Linked DNA regions of Homo sapiens: region 2 is linked to region 1. The links are contacts of gene promoters, found by promoter capture Hi-C in human tissues and cell types (Jung and others, 2019). All regions are on one chromosome and are shown on one strand. Each heading gives the region's core, a stretch centred on a gene start or on the middle of the fragment in contact. The rest is flanking DNA. Distances are from core to core; before and after follow the strand shown.

The links. Contacts are between HindIII fragments. The study calls those that stand out against the background at their distance.
Region 2: a contact is called between a fragment that was not itself captured here and the fragment with the promoter of KITLG in region 1, in 1 of the 25 tissues and cell types used here (pancreas).

The regions. Positions count from the first base shown.
Region 1 is chr12:88,579,204-88,586,273 of GRCh38, reverse strand. It overlaps KITLG (KIT ligand), which reads left to right and starts at 5,803. Exons shown (of 10, transcript NM_000899.5): 1 at 5,803-6,010. The coding sequence starts at 5,996. LOC105369885 (a long non-coding RNA gene) reads right to left here and starts at 5,738. Exons shown (of 4, transcript NR_188177.1): 1 at 5,664-5,738; 2 at 4,136-4,277. It also overlaps the pseudogene RNU1-117P. The HindIII fragment of the contact is 2,929 bases long and covers 3,561-6,489 here.
Region 2 is chr12:88,614,810-88,621,589 of GRCh38, reverse strand. No RefSeq gene overlaps it. Among named protein-coding and RNA genes, the nearest start is that of KITLG, 38 kb to the right of the region's middle. The HindIII fragment of the contact is 3,661 bases long and covers 2,449-6,109 here.

The sequences.
Region 1 (7,070 bases), core at 4,554-7,053:
GGTTTCAAACTTGCATTGGGCCTGTAGCTCCTTTCTTTTGGCCAATTTCTCCCTGTTGGAATGGGAACATATACCCAATGCCTGTATTATTTATTGTTACATCTTGGGAGTAAATTACTTATTTTTTATCTTACAGGCTGATAGGTGGAAGGAACTCATCTCCAGATGAGACGTTGGACTTGGGACTTGGAACTTATGAGTTTACACCTTGGGGGACTATTGTGAAAGCATGATTGTGTTTTGAAATGAGAGAAGGACATGAGATTTGGGTGGCCGAAAGCAGAATTATATGGTTTCTCATAATCTCCCTCCAAATCTCATGTTGAAATGTAATTCCCATTGTTGGAGGTGGGGCCTGATAGGAGGTGATTGTATCATGGGGGTGGTCCCCTCATGAATGGTTTAGCACCATGCCTTTGGTAATGAGTGAGTTCTTGCTCAGGTAGTTCATGAAAGATCTGGTTGTTTAAGATCTGGGACTTCCTCCCCCACTCACTCTGTTGTGCTCTCTCCTGCCATCTGACACACCTGCTTCTGCTTTACCCTCCTCCAGGATTGGAAGCTTCCTAAGGCCTCACCAGAAGCAAATGTCAGCACCATCCTTCCTGTACATCCTGCAGAACTGTGAACCAAATAAACCTCTTTTCTTAAAAATTACCCAGTCTTAGGCATCCCTTTATAGTAATGGAAGTGGACTAATACACTATCCTTCACAATATTGCTAACCCCTATTACATAATCAAGAAAAACCCTGAACTAGACAAATCAGTTTGATGTTGTTTTCTGAATACTAGAAAAATTATATTATTCAAAGAATACTCTGTGAACTTATTATGTATTTCATCATTTTCAAGGCTGGTAAAATCACACGCCTTCACATAGGCAAAGAGAACTTCACATTCTTGTAGTTTGGAAACTCCATAGGAAGGAGATACTGTTCCCCATTAGCTCAAGCACAAAAGTCCCACAGTGGATTCTGATTGGCCCATCTCATGTGATGTACCCATTCCTCCACCAATCAGGACTGGACAGATCAGGGTACTAAGCCTATCTCCGATAGTGGAAGGAGGTGGGAAAACAGAACCATGTGAATGACAGTCTCTCTTGAAAGATAAGGAATAGTCTGAATTCTCTAAGTGAAAGTGAGTGCTAATAATGGAAGAAGAGTGACAGGAAAGTGTGCTAAGCAAATAAAAAAAAAAAAAATCTAAGCCGGGCATGGTGGCTCACGCATGTAATTCCAGCACTTTGGGAGGCCAAGGCGGGCAGATCACCTGAGGTCAGCAGTTCGAGACCAGCCTGAGCAACATGGAGAAACCCCGTCTCTACTGAAAATACAAAACTTAGTCAGGCATGGTGGTGCATGTCTGTAATCCCAGCTACTCAGGAGGCTGAGGCAGGAGAATCGCTTGAACCTGGGAGGCAGAGGTTGCGTGAGCCAAGATCATGCCATTGCACTCCAGATTGGGCAACAAGAGTGAAGCTCTGTCCCCCCCCGACAAAAAAAAATTCCTAACCACAGTCCATATGTCTAGGTTAGATCATGGTTTTCCCATTTATCAATTGAGGGATCTTGAGCAAATCACCATACTTCTTTGATCCTCAGTTTCCTTATTTATCAAGTAGAAAAGTTAAAAATTACCTCTCTTACATGATTGTCATAAGAAGTTATTGACAGAATATAAACTAAGGGCTTAGACCAATTCCTGGCTTATATGGGCAACAGCAACCTAATTGACCAATATTTAAGGGATTCGCTCTGTTCTTTCCCCTGTGACAGATATTGACAATAAAATAATGAGCAAGGGCAGTCATAATTACTTTAACCAAATAGTCAAACAAACAAATACAAAACTGCAGTTGTTTTATAAAAAATAGGTAATTCATGCTCGACTTTATAGTAAGAGGAGAATTGAACAAAGCAAAGAGATCAGGGAAAACCTCCCTGAGGAAGAAAATATAGGGAATACTGAGTTGAGATCTACATGATAAATGCATACTTACTGGGCACAATGATAGGGTGAAACAAAGTGGTCCAAACAGAGGCAGAAAGGAGGGTATTTGCAAATGGCCTGAGGTGAGAATTATGAGGACAGAAGGGCCTTGGCCCTGGAAAAAAGGGAGCACATAATGAATTGACCTTGGAGAAGGAGGGAGAGGCGAGATCCTGGAGGCCTTGAAGGCTTTGCTAAGGTGCTAATTTCTTTATTCCAAGAGCAATGGCAAGCCACCAAAGAGCTTTCAGCAGAGGAAATTTCATGATCAAAGAGGCATTCTTCTCCTTTTCCCCCTCCTCTAGTCACTCAAAGACAGATATAGACAGTCTGTCTCCGGTCTGGCTTGGTCAGGCAATAAGTTTCAGTTTGTGAGAGACATTTTTTAAAAGAAAAATATTGAAAACAATATGTGTGTCTAAAAGAAGATATCCACAAAATAGTGAATGAACAAGAGATATTTCACATGCACAAAGCAAGATAAGACTTATTTGGTAAATTACACCTGCCTCTTAACAACAAAAACGATAAAGCTCAGGAAAAAAGCTTTTCAAAATTGGATTAATCAATAATAGCATGAGTGACGAATAGTATTGAAAGTATTCAAGTAAAAATTAGATAATCATGAAATAACTTTCTACCCAGTGTGTTAAATGTTGAATTCCCTGAGTTGTATAATGGTAGCCTGCTATTTCCATAAGAAAACATCCCCCATCCCTCCTGTCCACCTGGGACATAGCCCTGCCTCTTGTTCAGTTTAAAGGAACTCCTTGGTTTTTCTTCTGCGAATCAACTGAATGCTGGCCTGCATCCCCTATCAAAAGCCAGTCTTAAGGAGAGATCTCAGTCATTCTGACCCATTTGTGACTTCCATATAAGCCTACCCAAAATCTTTCATTTGCATATTAGCTCTTTCTAATCCCTTGGATATTTGCTTCGACATTCTCTTGATTCAAGTAACATTATTACACAACAAAACTGTAATGCAGCAGTATGAGGGAAACAAAAGATACAGTTACGTATGAGAAAGTCAGTGATATTAAGAAAGCTAGAACCAGGGAATGGTGGAGGTGGGAGGAGGAGACAGAACTGAGAGGGAAAAAAAATGGAAAGAGGGAGAAAGAGAGAGGAGAATGAGAATGCATTGTAGGAGATGAACGTAGCATGTATTATTGAGTTGAATGAAAAGAAATTGAACTGAATTTCTGTTAGGAACACTGCCTTGTTTCTTTAAACCTGGTACAACAAATTAGGCCATTCCTTTCTATTGGTCTCATAAAATCCGTATGGTTAGATTTATGATTCCCAGGCTTCAGTAACTCTCATACCATTTTGATTATTTTTGTCGTATCTGTCCTCCTTTAGTACTACTTGTTATTTACTTAATGTTATACATGAAAGTGAGTTTATATTGACACTAAATATTTCTTTTCTTGGGGGGAAAATGGTGGTAAAGGGGTACAAAGTTTTAGTTAGACAGGATGAATAAGTTCTGGAGATTTATTGTACAGCATGATAACTACAGTTAATGTACTGTATACAGTTAACCCTTGAACAACACAGGTTTGAACTGTATGGGTCTACTTATATGCAATTTTTTTTTCAAACTCAGATGGAAAATACAGTGTTCTAGAGATGTAAAACCCATGTATAAGCAGGGCTGACTTTTGTGTCTGCACGTTCTGCAGGGTTGACTGTGGGACTTGAATATATGTAGATTTTGGTATACCTGAAAGGTCTAGGAATCAATCCCCTGAATATACTGAGGTACTCCAAAACTACAAAGAGTAGATGTTAAATACTCTCAGCTCCCAAAAATGATGAGTATGTGAGGTGATGGATATACTATTTAGCCTGATTTAATAATTTCACAATGTATACATAAGCAGAACATCACATTGTACGTGGTAAATAGATACTATTTTTGTCAAATATAACTTAATAAAGCTGGAGAAAAAAAATAAAATTCTCCACTTCAAAAAAGCCTTAAAGGGGCCGGGTGCAGTGGCTCACGCCTGTAATCCCAGCACTTTGGAAGGCTGAGGCAGGCGGATCACCTGAGGTCAGGAGTTCGAGACCAGCCTGGCCAAAATGGTGAAACCCCGTCTCTACTAAAACAACAACAACAACAACAAAAATACCTGGGCGTGGTGGTGGGCACCTGTAATCCCAGCTACTTGTGAGACTGAGGCGGGATAATCGCTTAAACCTGGGAGGCGGAGGCTGCATTGAGCCGAGATTGCGTCATTGCACTTCAGCCTGGGAGACAGAGCGAGATTCCATCTAAAAAATAAAAAATAAAAATAAATCTTGAAGAAAAAAAAAACAATCATTTGCTATGCCTCCAGTATCCAAATTAAGCTCATTTTGATATTTGATGTTCGATATATTTGTACTAAGAGTACCTAATGTATAAAAATCTTTCTAAGCAACTATCAACTTGGAATCATGATTGATGTGCTGTCTATACATATTTTTTCTAACATGAGAAAGTGAGAACGCAGTCCCCCACTAAATTATGCAGTCGAGTTTCCCACATTTGGGGAAATCACAGAAGTCAGCACATCTGGAGTGAAATAAACAAGCTTCGCCCTGATTACAGGTTTGGCATATTCATGTTTAACAAACGCACCGGAACTAATTAAAGCAAATTTGGACTCCTACTCTATTATTAAAATAACTAATTCCTAAACTCATACATTATTCTTTCTTTTAAAGATCACTGATGTTAATGTTCAGCTAATATTTTCTTTTAAAAAATTAATGAAATGCTTTGGAATGTTCTCCAGTTATACAAACAAAAACAGACACATTCTGGAGAATCAATAAAATATTTGAAGTATTTTTTAAGACTGTACAGCTGGAGCTCCAGGTTTAAATTAGAGCTCTGCCATTTACTAGATATGGTTGGTCAAGAAAATTAACCTTGTATTTCATCGTCCATAAAATGGGAATAAAATAATAAGATCTACACTAATAGATTTGATGAAAGAATTTAATGAGATAATCTATGCGAAGTTCTTAGTCTGGCACCTGGCACATGAATAAGTGCATCACATAATGATGTTAGCTATTATTATTGTGGTTGCATTATCTTTCCGTTCAAAAAAGTACAACTTTCAAAGCCTTGCTGTGTTGGCGACCTGTAGTTTAATAATCTATCGCTTCTCTTTCAATCTTAATTTCTAAAGACACAGTAACAAACCATTCCAAATGAAGCGTCTCCCCTTGCAATACTTAACCTTGAGTCAACAATTCTTGTAATTATTAAATATTCATTCACTAAAGTAATTGTTTTTTTTAAAAAATAGAGGTGATAGGACAATGGCCTAACTACAGATCGCAATTAAACTTTATTTCTCTAAGGCAGGCAGGGTGAATTCTTTGCTCCGAACCTCCCGGACTCCTCTCCCTCTCCGACTTTGTATAACAGAGGGAGCTCCGAGCCCTCTCTGGCGCGCGAGGTATTTCGTCTGTCCCCGGGGGTGCCAGGTGAGCCCCAGCGGATCCGGGAGGGTAAGCTGGGACTCCTCGCGAGCAGTAGCTGCAGGGTACCAAGCTTCGCCCTCTGCGTCCCCGCGCCTTCGCGGTCTCCCGCCAGTGCAGGTCCGGGGCCCCCAGGCGAGCGGACAAGGTTGGCCTAATCTGCCAAACTTCTGGGGCATTTACCGTGCTCTGGCCGCCCTCCCGATTCTTCCCTCCGCGCCCTTGCCTGCTTCTCGCCTACCCCGGGCTCCGGAAGGGAAGGAGGCGTGTCCGGAGCAGGCGGGCGGGAACTGTATAAAAGCGCCGGCGGCTCAGCAGCCGGGCTTCGCTCGCCGCCTCGCGCCGAGACTAGAAGCGCTGCGGGAAGCAGGGACAGTGGAGAGGGCGCTGCGCTCGGGCTACCCAATGCGTGGACTATCTGCCGCCGCTGTTCGTGCAATATGCTGGAGCTCCAGAACAGCTAAACGGAGTCGCCACACCACTGTTTGTGCTGGATCGCAGCGCTGCCTTTCCTTATGAAGAAGACACAAGTGAGTAGGGCGCGCCCGGGAGCTCCCAGGCTCTCCAGGAAAAATCGCGCCCGGTGCCCCGGGGAAGCCGGCGCTCCCTGGGACTTGCAGCTGGGGCGTGCAGGGCTGTGCCTGCCGGGTGAGACAAGAGGATGCGGGGGAGGCCGGCGTGGTGTGTGATCCCGAGCCGAGCCGGGTGAGCCAGGGAGAAAAGGAGTGGGAGTGCTGAGAGGGAGCCAGTGTCAAGTTTGGAGCCTCAGCAGTTAAGTTTTGAGCTGTCAGTCGGAAACCGTAATTCCCGTCTGGTGGAAAGATTGGCTTTTGGGCCATGGAATGTTAAGTTATCACGGGAAGGCATGTCTTTGCATAGGAGACGGTTTTCCCGTGGATTCCAGGAGATTATGAAACAGCACCCCACGCGCCACCCTCACTAGCTCTCTCACTCAGATTTATTTGTGTAGCCCCGAGGTGGGCGCCGGGCACCAGGAGCGGCGCGAACGCGGGTGCAGCCGCGGGAGCGAAGCCAACGCGGAACTCCTAAGCGGCAGCTCTCGGCGGGGCGGGAACCTGCCCGCCTGCCCGGGAAACTTGGCTCTCGGCGGTGTCTGCCTAGTTTGCAGCTCTGTGTGGGCTCTAAAGAGCTCTAGTACCTCCACAATGCACGCACCTTTTTCCATTTCAAAAGGGATAAAGGCTTTTTATAAAATAGGCACCTCTGAATGATAGTGATTGAGATAATTCCCAGTGCTGCTAAATTCTGCATTATACATAAAGCACTGTGGGTAAAGCGCTGCCTGGGGGGACAATTAGATTTTTTTTTCCCTTGAAGAAAATACCTGGTTCTTCGTTTAGAAAGGGCCGCCACGGTGCCCCTATCCACAGTTCTCTTCACCATTGTTGATTGTTACCTCCTCTCACTTTCCCCCTTAGAAATTGTTATGTGTTATCTGCCGCGGTTGGCTAAGGGTTGCCCTTTCACCCCCCAGAGGTTCTGTTGGAGATTGCAGTTCCTGAAATGTGTGGAAGGGGTGGAAGTGGTGGGGAAAAAGGAAACCGGGGTGTTTGTACACATCGTTGGTGT
Region 2 (6,780 bases), core at 3,030-5,529, 37 kb before region 1:
ATGAGAAATGCCCACCCCCACCATGATCCAATCACTTCCTAACAGGTCCCACCCAACACTGGGATTACATTTCAACATGAGATTTTGACAGGGACACATATTCAAACTAAATCACCTCCTTCTTCCTTTTTTTCTTTTCTAGGTTAGAGGCGGAGCAAAAGCCAGAAGAGGAGAGAATCTCTGTCCTGAAATTTTCCAGCCACTTGCTCCAGCTTTCTCACATTAGGGCGTGACTCCAAGGTCATTTCACTAGGCTGACCCTTGATCACTGGGTTGCCAATGGATGGGGAATCCGGCCCAGAGTCCCAGAACAGGAGCAAAGCAAGCCTCCACAACAAAAACAAAAATATACAAATGGGACTTAACTAAACTAAGAAGCTTCTGCACAGCAAAAGAAATAGTTAACAGAGTAAACAGAAAACCTACAGAATAGAAGAAAATACTTGCAAATTATACCTCCAACAAAGGACTAATATCCAGAATCTACAAGGAACTCATGCAACTCAATGAGAAAGAACAAACAAATCCCATTAAAGACTGGGCAAAGGACATGAACAGACACTTCTTAAAAGAAAAAATACAAGCAACCAACTAACATATGAAAAAACAGAATTTATTTGTGTTTACAGGTCTCTCTCTCTTCCCCGTGTCTCCTCCACTAATACCATCTCCTGCCTCCGCCATTTTACAGACACTGAACATCCAAATATTTACACAATAGGAAGAAACAGGAGACATTTTTATAATTGCTGTGTTTTTGCCACCCTAGCAATGGTTCTCCCCATGACTCACACCCATGATATTAGCACAGGAACTCCCTCAGTAATAAGTACCTGAGGGTTTGATTGGCTCAGACAAAGAAAGTTTGAAACTTATATATACTTCAGTAAACACAACTTCATTGAAGGCTTCCTTTTATTTGGTAGGACCAGGCATAAATATAAATATGATAATGAGATTGATTTGGAGAAAAAGTTCTTCAGAGAATCCTCAAAGGGAATGACTCTGAAAGAATAAGCAATTTGTCCAAGGCCACATAAATGGTGAGCATCAGGACTAAAACTCAGGCCCCCAGATTCCCAAGTTTTAACGTGTGCCAGTGACCCTTAAATGCTGACGTGCGAAAGAATCATCAACAGTGATAGTGAGATCCCATCTCCATAAAAAAAGTTAAAATTTATTCAGGCACGGTGTTGTGCAACTGTAGTCCCAGCTGCTCAGGAGGCTGAGGCAGGAGGATTGCTTGAGCTCAGGAGTTCAAAGCTAAAGTGGGCTATGATTGTGCCACTGCACCCAACCTGGGTGATAAAGCAAGACCTTGTCTCAAAAAAAAAAAAAAATTACCAATGGGGCTCTCTAAAACCTGCAAGTTTCTTTGTCTCCTCCTCAGAGAATCCTGTTTGGGAGAGTGGGACCTGGGAATCTGTACTGCTACTGAGTTCCCAGTGATTCGAGCAACACTGGGGAAGTGGAAAGGGCATCTGGCTGCTGAAGAGGGCATCGATTTTGCTCCCGGTATTTATAGACATTTTTATTCTATCCTTGGTTATTCTCTCACATTTTCCCCTTCATCAACAGGCTCATAATTAAGATTAACATCAACAAGTAGAAATCATGTTTAAACCAGAGGCATGATAAACTCTATGTAGTATTTTGGGTGAGGGTAAGTATGGAAAACACAGTCTCCCTCCTAAGAAGATGCCATGTCTTTCAAAGAATTACACAAGCAATGCCTAAATATATGCCCATTTAAAAATTTAAACATTAAACAGTGCAGAAGAAGATACATTAAAAGTGAATTTCTCCCTTCACCCCTCCCCTAATCTCACCCTCTACCCAGAGTTACTCCTGCTAACTGTTGGTTATGGACCCTTCAGTCTTTTATATGCAATGACATACACAAGTGTTTGTGCCTTTTTTGCCCTTTTGCTTTTGAAAAGTTATGTTTATGAAAGGATCAAGGCATTTTTTTATTATATAGGTGACAGAAGATGACCTCACCACCACAGTATCAAACTTAAATTAAGGGCACTTCAAGATGCATGATTGTTACTGGTAATTGCAGCATTAACTTTTGACCTTTTTAGAAATGAAGACTTCCTGGACCTTACTCACCTCCTCAAATACATGTTGGTCAGTAAGTGATATTCATTAGTCATATAAAAAATACCTGTGAGGATGCTAAAGGAAGAGGAAAAGGCTGACAGTCACATCATGTAAACTCATGAATACCATTATAGTCTTCACTTGAGCACAAGGTGCTAAATTAATTCACCTCATTGCAAACTCTGCAGGACTGAGAATGTTTCCATGAGAAGGGTTGGAGAGGTGGGGCCGAGGGTACAATGGGGGATGCTTTTATGCATTCATATAAAGTGTACAGCATTCACCCTGCTTTCTCACCCTCAGCATTCCACTGAAATGGCTCTTGCAAAGATTACCAAGAAATTCTAGTTGCTTAACTTTATCCTCTTGACTTTGGCGGCATTTGCTGGTTGACCATTTCTTCCTTCTTCAAAGATTCCTCCTCCCTTCCTTCTCCTCTGGTTCTGATGAAAGTGAGTATTCAACCTCTGTTTTACAGATTTCTCTTTAATATTCACATCTCTCAGGGTTCCATTCTGGAAACCTAGGATGCTTTTATGCTTGTTTTGTATCCTCTATCTAACAGAGCTGATAAAATCCTATACTCTCAGCAATGACACCCAAATCTGCATCAACAGCCCCACTTTTGCACTGAGCTCAAGGACCCCCTTCTGCATAGCCACCAGTATCTCAAGCATGGCATGTCTAACAGGAAATGGAAGTCTTCCTCCTCACTTTCCCACCAACCCTGTTCCCGCCACCCCATGTATTACTCATATCAGTTAAGGATAAACCAGTATATCAGTTCTTCACGTTAGAAATGGCATTGCCGTTCCTCACTCCTCCTCTTAACTTACTCTTTACATCAGTCAATCATCAACTCCTAAGAAGTCCACCTCCCAAATATTTATTTACTCTTTCATCTCCTCTCTCCTCCCATTGCTATTATCCCAGTCCTTGTCATTGTCACTTGGAGCAAAGGATGCCCTAGAAGGCATCCCTATGTGGAATCTCTGTCCTCCTCCAATCCCAAACATTTTGCACCAAAATGCCAGAATATTCCTCAAATGCTGGAATCTTCCTAATCTATGCTTTTGACCATTCATTTCCTTCAGCTGGAGTGTCCTTCTTTGCCAAAAAAACTCCTTCAGAATGTAAAGTAAACAGTTTCTCTTCCATAAATCCATGCCTGGCATCATCTCTCCACACCTCCTCATAAGCAGTGAGACCTTCCTCTGTGCTCCCACTGTGCATCTACCTCTATCAGGATGCATTCTAACCTCATCTGGCCAACACGTTAGCAAGCGCTCATAACAATATATTGTGATAACACACATCATTTCAAAACCCTACTCACTCTAGAAAACCTACTAAACTGAGAACTCTGGTGCTACAAAGACACATTTTTGAACCCTAGTAACAGATCTAAACCCTATCTTCCAAAATCTGTCCATTTATTCTTTCATATATTTATGTATCCAGTAACTATCAAGTACCTACTGTGTGCCAGACATGGCTCTAGGTGTTAGGGATAGAGCAGTGAGCAAGATAGATAAAAACCCGACCTCCTACTGCTTACATTCTAGTGATAAAAACAAACAATAAACAAATATTTAAGTAGAATATATCATATCCCAGGCAACAATGGATGTTAGGGAGGAAAATCAAGCAGAAAAGGGAATCGTGTTGGGACATGGTTAAGGGTGGGGGTATTCTAAATAAAGCAGTCGAGGAAGAGCTTAAGATATCATAATTCTAGTCTGTACTCTAGGGACAGCTTCCTATAAAATCCAGGGAAAGTAAGACACTGAGCCTCTGTTTCAGTCCCTTAGGAAAAACAGTGGGAGGAATAAATGGTATATAATGGTTGGGAACCCAAAGTGCCCTTCATCTTGCCACCATTTCCTGTGGATTCATGAGAAGTATGAATAGACAGAAATGTTTTCAACAAGAGAATACAGTTATGGGTCATATGTCTCTTGGGAGAACTTTGGACTTTATAATGAAGGGAAACCTTGCAGCCCTAGGGCCTTATGGGGAACTTCAGAGACGTTATGTTAGTGAGAGAGTGTGGTGTCCAGAAAGAGACCAAGGCACCAAGCTAGTGTGAGCAGGATCATCAGAAGAACAAATCCTATATCCTGACCAATGTTAAGTGGTAGAATCTGACAAAAGCAGCAGTAGTACCCAGCACAGCTGTCAAAGCCCAGCAGACACCACAGTTTCTAGTAGAAAAAGCCTGGAACAAAAGAGGGAAGAAATGGTAAATGCCCACAGGAAGCAATGAATAAAGTTGGCACATAAGCACATGTGAGATACCTCTTGGGTTTCCAGAGAATTTTTAGAAGGATGCTTTAGAGAGATTTTGTGTCCTTTATCATTAGGAAGTGCAGGTGGGGTGGAACAAATCAAAGCATGTTATCAAGAACAAGCTTGGACCTGAATGCTCCAGTCAGGCTGAAGAAGGCTTGGTAGCCTTAAAAAGCAGAGGTAGCCCAGTTCTCGAACAAGAAAATAAATGGGTAGTAGTCTTGGGGAGGGTGTCTCTTAAATTAATATTTTTATTTTTTATTTATTTATCTCTTTTTTCTCTACACAGGAGACATGGAGCCCACTTACAAACTAGTTCCAATTCCATGAAATCCCCTGTTTTTACGTAATTAATTTTATGTATATTATTTTTTCAAATGTGCCAACAATTTTTATGCTATCAGGCTGATGCGTAGCTTTAGAAAACACTATTTCCAGAATTATACACATAACGTTGCATTACAACAAACAAAAGTCATTTTTAAATAGGAATATTGTAATGAAGAAGTGTTTTGTTTCATTCTCTAACAAAATTTAGATCCTTTAAATACCATATTCAACTATTTCATTGACATTCTGGTGGGCTTCCCTGGGCTTCTCTTACCTAATAATCAATTATCAGGGATTATTAAAACAAGTGTCATTACTCAAGCTGTATCCAAAGGCCAGACTTATAAAGAAATTGGCACCCTAGGGACAGTTATTGAAGAGATTTATTTAGTAAGTGATGAAAGCTACAGTCATCATGTAATTCGGAATTTTTTTACTATTATTTAGAACTTAAATTTCTTTCAGGAAATAAAATGATATAAAGCAAGGGTTGTATGACAAATTCACAAATGTAAACACTGACACTTCCCTTCCTATCATTCTAGACTGTGAACTAAAGAATATCCTTACAATAGTATATTATATTTGTAAATGATGTCATTTGGAATGATAGATTGCTCCAAAGAAGGCAGAACATTTATTGGGGGCAGGGAGGAGGGAGAGAGAGACAGAGAGAAGATTGGAAGACTATTTCTGTACAAATTATTTCATTCTTGAAGTTAGTTAGAAGCAGGCAACGTACTACCCTGCTGTACAAAGTGCTTTCCTTCAGCGACTGTCTTTACCTCTTCTATATCTGTCTAGGTGCAGGTTTGGGAATGAAGCTTCAGATCAAAGAGAAGAAGCAAGCCCCTGACAATGATCCAGAAACCCAGCATATCACTCAGTAGAAACAAAACAGGACTGCCATATAGTGCCTCTTAGGCCCCGTGTTTCCCACTCTGGCAAATACTCCAACTTGCCTCTACCTGTCTCTGATCCATCTCCACATAGACTGGTTCTAACCTTTAACAGATAGAACAGAGAGGCCATGACTCAGACAATTTTTAGTAACATAGCTTGCTTTTTCATGTGGAGGACACAAGAACATACCACTTGGATACTTTGCTTGAATTCATACAACTTCTCACCCAGTCTCTTTGACCAAGTCCCTGATCCCTGATCCATTATTCCTGCCTGAGTTATGCACCTCAGTGGTTGTACTTGTAGTGTGCTGGAGCTGATTCACACTGGCTCACAAGAATGGATTGTTAAAACTTCAAAAAATATGTGAGCCTGTTCATCTCGCTGTGGTAGCTTGAAACTGGTCATAGCAGGAGTATTTACACCAGAGAAATTGGCACAAGATTTAAATCAAGGTGTTCTTCCTCTTCCTACCCTTACCTAACATCCTCCTCAAACCATACTCCTGTTCTCCTGCCCAAGAGAGTTCATTGTTAAACATATACCAGAAAACCACTGCTGACCCAACATGGAAAACTCACTTGCTGATGCTTTATCTAATTTCCATGGATATATTATCTAACACACTTGACTCCTTGTCTGGCAGGATCTTAGTCCTACTCCTTTTAACTTACTCTTCCCTGCTGATGTCCATGTCTTAGCATGAGAGTATATTCTGCCAAAAGCTGCTTCAGCAATGGTGATAAATATCTATCTTGTCTCAAGTATCATCTGGTTTCAGAGTCTGAGTAAACCTGAACTTACAAGTGGATTGTACATTCACTAGCTCTTCAGCCACCCTATTCTATTTCTAACAAATAATTGCTCTTCCTCAGCATCCCTAATAAACACAACATGTTATCTTCTTAATAAACATTCTTTTGGCAATGTAGGTGACCATTTCAAGGAGGAAACACCATTTGGTGAAAAAAAATACGTATAATTTACTGATTTTTAAAAATTCCACAGTATTTATAGGGGTAGCAAGGGACCCAGATTAAGCTTGAGTTTTAACCCTGGTCAGATTTAGTTTTGTATGCACATGTTTAATGAATCAGTGGGGTGACCTACTAGAAGTCTCTGTATAAGAAATCCTAAGTAGCCTCCTAGGAT